Linked DNA regions of Homo sapiens: region 2 is linked to region 1. Evidence: promoter capture Hi-C in human tissues and cell types (Jung and others, 2019). All regions are on one chromosome and are shown on one strand. The core of a region is centred on a gene start or on the middle of the fragment in contact, and the rest is flanking DNA. Distances in the headings are between cores, read along the strand shown.

Evidence for each region. The method cuts DNA at HindIII sites, captures the fragments that hold promoters and counts their contacts. A contact is called where the count stands out against the background at its distance.
Region 2: a contact is called between a fragment that was not itself captured here and the fragment with the promoter of OR5H2 in region 1, in 4 of the 25 tissues and cell types used here (bladder, lymphoblastoid cells, mesenchymal stem cells and 1 more).

Annotation. Positions count from the first base shown.
Region 1 is chr3:98,279,806-98,284,120 of GRCh38, forward strand. It overlaps OR5H2 (olfactory receptor family 5 subfamily H member 2), which reads left to right and starts at 2,700. Exons shown (of 1, transcript NM_001005482.2): 1 at 2,700-4,265. The coding sequence starts at 3,098. The coding sequence ends at 4,027. All of the region lies in intron 1 of LOC105373999 (a long non-coding RNA gene), which reads right to left. The HindIII fragment of the contact is 8,138 bases long and covers 1-4,315 here.
Region 2 is chr3:98,053,519-98,057,800 of GRCh38, forward strand. It overlaps the pseudogene OR5BM1P. Among named protein-coding and RNA genes, the nearest start is that of GABRR3, 20 kb to the left of the region's middle. The HindIII fragment of the contact is 5,422 bases long and covers 1-4,282 here.

The sequences.
Region 1 (4,315 bases), core at 1,450-3,949:
CCTCCATTTCTCTATATCCAAATCTAGGTTGAGTGGGTTTGATTACACATACCAAAGTCAAATCCTTTGTCTGCCACTAAGATCTGTGTGGGAGAGAAAAAAGTATCAGATGTTGACCATCCAATAAATGACATCCATTCCCTATATTACCTTTCAATATAACTCCTCAAGCTGTTTTTCTTTTTTTTAAAAAAAGTCAACTTTTATTTTAGATATAGAGAGAATATATGCAGGCTTGTTACATGGGTATATTGCATGCAGTTAGTGAGCAGAGTACTCAATAGTTTTTCCACCCATTCTCCCCTCCGTCTCCCATGTACTAGTCCAAAGTGTCTATTGTTCTCATGTTTATGTCCATGTGTGTTCAATGTTTAGCCCCACTTGTAAATAAGAACGTGTGTCATTTGGTTTTCTGCTCCTGTGTCGGTTTGCTTTGGATTATGGCCTCCAACTGCATCCATGCTGCTGCAAAGTACATGATCTCATTCTTTGTTATGGCTGAGTAGTATTCCATCTTGTATATGTACCACATTTTAAAAATCCAATCCACCCCTGCTGGACACCTAGATTGATTCCATGTGTTTACCATTGTGAATAGTGTAGCAATGAACATAGGAGTGCATGTGACTTTAACAACAAAGACAGCATGGTATTGTTACAAAAACAGACACATAGACCAATGGAACAGAGTAGCAAACTCAGAAATTAAGCCACACGCTTGGAATAATCTGATCTTCAACAAGGCTGACAAAAAACAAGCAACAGAGAAAGGATACCCTATTCAGTAAACGGTGCTGTCATGGCGGCTAGCCATATGTGGAAGAATGAAACTGAATCCTTTCCTTTCATCATACACAAAAATTTATTCAAGATGGATTAAATATTTAAATGTAAGACTTCAAAATGTAAAAATCCTAGACGAAAACCTAGGAAGTATTCTTCTCAACATCAGCCTTAGCAAAGAATTTTCGGCTAAGTCCTCAGAAGCAATTGCAATGAAAACAAAAATTGACAAGTGTGACCTAATTAAGGTAAAGAACTTCTGCACAGCAAAAGAAATCATCAATAGAGTACACAGACAACCTACAGAATGACAGAAAATATTTGCAAACTATGCATCCAATAAAGGTCTAATATCAGAATCTATAAGGAACTTAAACAAATCAGCAAGCAAAAAAATGTAACCCTATTAACAAATAAGCAAAGGACATGAACAGATCCTTCTCCAAAGAAGACATACAGGCAGTCAACACACATAAAAAAGAAATGCTCATCATTAATCATCAGAGGAATGCAAATCAAAATCACAATGAGATACCATTTCACACCAGTCATAATGGCTATTATTAAAAAACAAAACATGCTGATGAGGCTGTGGAGAAAAGGAAAGGCTTATACACTGTTGGTGGAAATACTTTAGTTCAGCCACTGTGGAAAGCAGCCTGGAGATTTCTCAACAATTTGAAACAAAGCTACCATTTGACCCAACAATCCCATTACTGGGTATATACCCAAAGGAAATTAGGTCATTATACTATCAAGTATTTTTGGTGCTATGCTTTTCTTTTCTTAATGTACTCTCCAATAGGTAAGACATCCATTACTATGCCTTCAACTACTCCAGTGACTCCCAAGTTATTTCTATCACTCTAGTAGAATTGTATTACTAATACCAAACATCTCACCTACATATTCAAGGCATGCTCACACTGCAAACTTGTCAATGCCCCTGAGTTCTCAGTCTCTATTTTGAATGACAATCTACCTACTCACAAAGTGACTCCTTTTTCCTTCACTGAATACTACTTTTCTATCAAATATGTGACTAAGTCCTAGTGACACTACTTTCTGAATGCTTTAGAATCTATTTCTTCATCCTCATTATTTGCAAGATTATAATACACATGGACTAGGCACTTGCAAACTTAAAATTCAAAGCCCCCCATCAACAGAACGAACCCCCTCTTGGCCAAAAGTTCTCCAGAAAAACTGTAAAAACTTAGTTCTCAGCCATGACAGGGTGGGAAGTCAGATGTGCCTTGTTATACTTCCTCTCTTTTGCAATTTAGACATGACAACTGACCGGTATTAATGTTAAGATAGAGATTATAAGACTGACAGAACATATTCTTTGTGACAATAAGATTCCAAATTATAAACAGAACCTAAGGCCACACCAGGCAAGGTTTAAGTCAGGCACCTCTACACTTAAAGAATAAACTGTGTTCTAACTGCCACAAGGTTTTTCTTTTTCTCTAGTAGCTAAACAGGCACTGGCCTCAAGACAAGCAGGATTAAAACAATTTGCAGCTGCACCAGATGCTCAGTAACTGAACCCCTGCTACCAGACATAACTACAGCTTTGATTGGACAAGAGACTGATGTCAGTAACTTTCTCCAGATAAGAGGAAAACTGACCACGGACTGGTTCTGGCTGGTTTACAGAGACAGTGCATTTATGGGCCTTCATGTCCTGAGAAGACCTTTTGATGTATAGGGCCTAACTGTAACAAATTTAAATGTTAAGTCTCCACTCCAATGTGAACATGGGTTGTATGTTACATACATGTTCAATATGCATGTGCCAAGGCTACCTTCATGAATACTCATAGATCCTCCCGTAACCTGTTGAATATGTATATTTAGCCAACTTATTTAGCCTAAAGCTCCTACCTCAAGCCCTCCTCCTTTGATGTGCCTGTTTCTGGTCTTGGCCAGAGGCATGCTTCCCAGCACACTTGATGGCCACCTTGCAGGCTGTAACCCCTTATAAGAAATAAGTCTTCTCTCCTTTTCTAAATTTACAAATAGTGATTTTCTTAAGTTAACACACATTACATGCATTTCTATCATCTGCATTTTAAAAGTAGATTATTTGATCACATTTTTAGAATTAAAATAATTGCATTTATTTTGATTTCTTATATTTCCCAAAACAGTTTCCATCTATTACAGGAATATGAAAGAAAATTAAAAGGGTATTGTAATAAGAGTATGTTTTTCTATCAACTTCCCTCCCCCAGTATTTGCTGTATAAGTCTTAGTGAATGCTCTTTTACATTTACTGCATTTCATTTCAGGGATGTCGAATGAGGACATGGAACAGGATAATACAACATTGCTGACAGAGTTTGTTCTCACAGGACTTACATATCAGCCAGAGTGGAAAATGCCCCTGTTCTTGGTGTTCTTGGTGATCTATCTCATCACTATTGTGTGGAACCTTGGTCTGATTGCTCTTATCTGGAATGACCCACAACTTCACATCCCCATGTACTTTTTTCTTGGGAGTTTAGCCTTTGTTGATGCTTGGATATCTTCCACAGTAACTCCCAAAATGTTGGTTAATTTCTTGGCCAAAAACAGGATGATATCTCTGTCTGAATGCATGATTCAATTTTTTTCCTTTGCATTTGGTGGAACTACAGAATGTTTTCTCTTGGCAACAATGGCATATGATCGCTATGTAGCCATATGCAAACCTTTACTATATCCAGTGATTATGAACAATTCACTATGCATACGGCTGTTAGCCTTCTCATTTTTAGGTGGCTTCCTCCATGCCTTAATTCATGAAGTCCTTATATTCAGATTAACCTTCTGCAATTCTAACATAATACATCATTTTTACTGTGATATTATACCACTGTTTATGATTTCCTGTACTGACCCTTCTATTAATTTTCTAATGGTTTTTATTTTGTCTGGCTCAATTCAGGTATTCACCATTGTGACAGTTCTTAATTCTTACACATTTGCTCTTTTCACAATCCTAAAAAAGAAGTCTGTTAGAGGCGTAAGGAAAGCCTTTTCCACCTGTGGAGCCCATCTCTTATCTGTCTCTTTATATTATGGCCCACTTATCTTCATGTATTTGCGCCCTGCATCTCCACAAGCAGATGACCAAGATATGATAGACTCTGTCTTTTATACAATCATAATTCCTTTGCTAAATCCCATTATCTACAGTCTGAGAAATAAACAAGTAATAGATTCATTCACAAAAATGGTAAAAAGAAATGTTTAGATTTCATAGTGATATCTCTCATTTTCAGTAAAAAGAATTTTGCAGTTAGATAAGGTGTTTTGCTAAGTGTTCAAAGTTATTGTAAATATAATTGTTTTAGCATTTTAATGACTTAGGGTTTTATACCTAATAAACTCCTTAAAATATTTATATATGTTATTCAAAAGCATCCAAGGAATTTTAACCTGGTGTTCATGTTATATTAGATAATTAAAGCAGAAAACAAATGAAAACATTTATAGGTTAAATACTCTTCATGTGGCTTTATAAATGCCTTAAGTGTTAAAG
Region 2 (4,282 bases), core at 884-3,383, 230 kb before region 1:
CAGAAGCAAAAGCTTCCTCATGTGCAGTGCCCACCTGCTCTCTGTCTCTTTGTTCTATAGCAGTGTCTTCTTCATGTATGGGTGCCCCAGGTCTGGCCCAGATTAACAGTGGAATGAAATGTATTTTCCGTTCTACATGATTATAATTCCTCTGCAGACTCCTTTATTTACAGTATGAAAAACAAAGAAGTTTTAGGTACACTTAGAACAATGATAAAGAAATATTTTTGGAGAACACTTTCATAATTCTTTCCATTTCCTTTCTGTTAAAACAAATCGTAATAATTGTTTCTGTGTTTTACACATAGTAGGGACACAATATGTTAAGTGAATGAATAAAAAAATTTAGACTAAATATTCTTGTCTTAGTTATAAGTTATTCTGATCATTAAAATAGTTAATGAGCATTTAAGGACAAACACCACATTTTTGTTGTTGTTTTAAGTACATACTCAAGGATGAAGTTCAAACTGAAATTATAATGCCACATTACTGTTTTTGTAACATGAATGAAACACAAGAGTTCATTCATTTTACAAAGACTTAGTAACAAGTTTTTGTAACATGAATGAACTACATGAAATACAGACATACATGTTTTAGAACTTACTTGCAGTTATTTAAAGGAAGACCCCACCTATATAATTTAAAAAGTGTTCAAAGTATTCATGCACTTCTAAATAATTCTTGAACAAGGCATTTTTCAAACTTTCTCTTTAGCAGATATTTATAATAATATATCAGAATGTTAATAAAAATAATACTGTTAGGCCAAATATGACAACACATATCCTCTTAAAACATTTAAAACTAAGATTTCCATTTGGTTTAAAAGCAATTTTGAAAAGTAACATGTTTCATTGCCTCCATTGAAAGATATGTAAATGTAACAACAAAAATACTAAAAGTAATTCAAATTTCTGCAATATAGTTAGAAAATTTCTGAGTTCTTCTAAAACTTTTACTTTTTAATTTATTGAGTAGTCCTACTGAGCACTGCATTCCTGACACACATATCCTACCTGAATAGTGTTTTCTGGCATTGACACCTGCCTGAACCAGCAGGTGTGCTTGATCAACTGTCAGTTAAATATATTAAGCTAATTTTTTTTCTTACCTACATTGTGTATATATTCTATCTGGCCCTTTCATGAGTAGGCAAACTTTGACCTCCTTACTTTTATTACTTAGACTCTTGAGAATACTCAAGAGAGTATTCTCTTGAGAAAATACTCAAGAAAGATTTTTCCATATGCATAATACATTGCTTTTACCCTGGCTTTAAAAAAAAGTGAAGAAATGGCAGTTTGTTGAATGATATAACCCAAAGCCCCAAATGAGGCACAGTGGCTTTAGGAATAGTTTGTTAGGGTTCAGTTTTTTCAGAACCCGGTTCCTCTCATTGCATCTGAGCTGTGCCTTCTGCTGTGGGGACTCCATTTTAAGCAGGTGTACCCTGTGGCTGCAGAATCTCTGCAGGAGTTCCTGTCTCCATCTCTCTATAGTCAACCCCAGCGACAAAGTGTTCTAATTTTATATGTAATATGCCATACAGGCTGATTAGTCTTGCCTACATAGTGGCCGTATGTCAATGTATAACCTTTCTCTCTCATCATTACACCTATATTATTTCAAGAAAAATCCCCACTGATTTGGGTTGAGACCTAGAGACCAGAGTACTACATTCTACATGCTTTCCTCAGCTAGATTCACATAGAGCAGGACTGACATCCTCACACTCCCCGAGAGGAAAACAGCCACAGGCAGCTATATAGTCAAAGGGGACAATAGTTTTGCAAATATTAAACAATGGAAATTAATTTCTTATTTTAACATTTTTTTTCATAGTTTCTGAGGTGGGAAAAATCTAGTACTTGACCTTTTAACAAGATAGCCTGAAGAGCAGACTTTTAAATTACTTATGTCTGAGTCCTGAATCATGTCCCTTAAAGAGGCAGTTCATTGGCTGAGCAGAAATCCCAAATCACAGAGCTGTACTAATTGGTTAGTTAATTAGGGCACTCCCAGGTGAGAAATGTTGAAGACTGGCAGACACTAACTTCCATTGTTCATCCAAGTCCGTTGGCACAATCTGTGGTTTGACTTTTAGAGGTGTTAGTGCAATTCTCTCACAATCTCCTAGCTCCACTTTAGAATGCCTGCACCTTAGTTACCTCAGTTTCTTTCATACAACCTTAATTACCTCTGAAGCATGAATTCCCCTTTGCCAGGTAACCTAACATATTCACAGGTTCTGGGAATTAAGATGTGTACATATGTGGCAGGAGCATTATTGCGTACATCAAAGGTAGACTTGGAAAAGAGTGTGTTTTGTCCAGATTCCAATTTATGGCACTAGAAATCATTTCTGGCTCTGCTCCTTCCTTACCTGGCTACCTCAAAGTAAACTTGGTTTGCAAAGTACGTAGGCAGCAGACCCTTGAAGGTTAAGCTTTAGAGGCTGGTCCCCATCACCATCTTGCATGGCCAGGACCTGCAAATTCCTGCAGCGACAGAAAGAAGCCAAGAGACTCACTCATGCAACAGGTGGGTTGGGACATGTAGGTGGAGGACATAAGAGAGACCCTGAGGGGTGACCACATCAATGAGACCCAAGAGAGTCAGAACAGCCTTGGAGGGCAGCTGGGACCCTACCCATACTAGTTGACCAGATCAATAGTTCCAATAGGCACTGACTTTGGCTGTAAAAGCTGGCACCATGCCAAGCCCAGAAGAGTCAGACAGTATTAGTAGGACAGAGACCTTCACTTTACTCCCAAAAGATCACAGGCCTTTCCCTGCTCCATATTCTCATATTCATCTCAGAGGTTTACATGAAAAAATTAAAATTAGTCAAGTTAATTTTCTGTCATTTAGAGCATGACAGCTCTTGCTATATCTATTCCATGAACTGCTTAACAAAATCATTGATTAGAATCACAGACTCCGGTCATCTCCAGGCTGAGGTCATGACCCATGAGAGAATGGATCGGAAGTAATAGGATACGGGACAATCGACTAACCCCTCTTCTTAAACTCTGGACTTTTGGAGAGTTGTTTTCACTGAGAAAAGCCCAAGTCCAATAGTGATAACTCAGTTCATAAGTGATGGCCTGGGACATGCTGTAGAGACTAGGTGTGGGAGGACATATTCAGAGTCCCTAGCTGAGTCAGAAATAGAACCTGCAGCTTGTCTCACAGGAGCCAAGGCCAACATGAGAGATCCTGGCAGATTGGGAAGGGACATCACATGAATCGTGCAAGAATCAGCTCATCCACCTATTTCCACACAAGCTAGGCAACTGAGGCAGAGATGGAACTACAACTTGAAAGTGAACATGAGCATATGAGAGAGGAGAAAGAGAAGAAAAGATTGAGGAGACAGCCTACACTTTCTGACACCATTACAAAGATAACTGCTCAGCCTCCAGTGGGTCCACCCTATGCTCATACCTACACAAGGGAGGCCCTGCTGACCATGTAGCTGGAATTCCTGGGACAGGGATGCATTATACTGTGGATGGAGGGAGCTTCCTAGTAGGAGAAAAGACTTTCATCCAGTAACCAATTTTACTTAGCCAAACTACAACAGAACATAGTAGAAAATTCAACTCAGGTCTTTCTAGAAGCAAGGTAAGCAAACTTAGCAAACTTGAGTCCATTCAAAAGACTCTTACCCTAAAAAAGAGTAAGAGTCTTTTGAATGGACTCATGTTTACTAAGGAGAGAAAGTAATGGGGAGGAAGAGAATGAAAAGTATTAATTTTCTTTTATCAGTTGCCTCTCTGAGTATAGAGCTGGTTCCATAGTTTGCATAAGGGTTCTATCTGTCTGGGAATATATTTTAAATTGTTGTAGAAGTAATGCAAAGAGAAAAAAAGGAATTCCTCTTCTGACTTCAAAAACAGGAATTTGTCTTGAAGGAATATTACATTATTTTACACAGATTTTTAGTATATTAAGAAATGAACTGGAAGTCTTAGAGATTAGAGTTCTATACTGTAAATATGGCTATGTCTGCTAGGCTAAGCCTGGTTTCTTCATCGCACAAGGAGAATACAAAGTAAGAGAAGTAAAAAATGAGCCCATATTTTCTCACTTAGTGGTGAGGGGAGAAGAGTAAGTGGATAGAGAGCAAAGGGAAGCAGTCAGGTAACTATATCCCAATTTTGTTGTTACAGGCTCCAATTTGGAGTTTCAGAGGTTTGTAGATAGTTTTAATAGAGCCTGAGGGAGGGAAGTCTTCTAGCCAGAGTCTTGTTTTAGAGTGTAGAAAGGAACC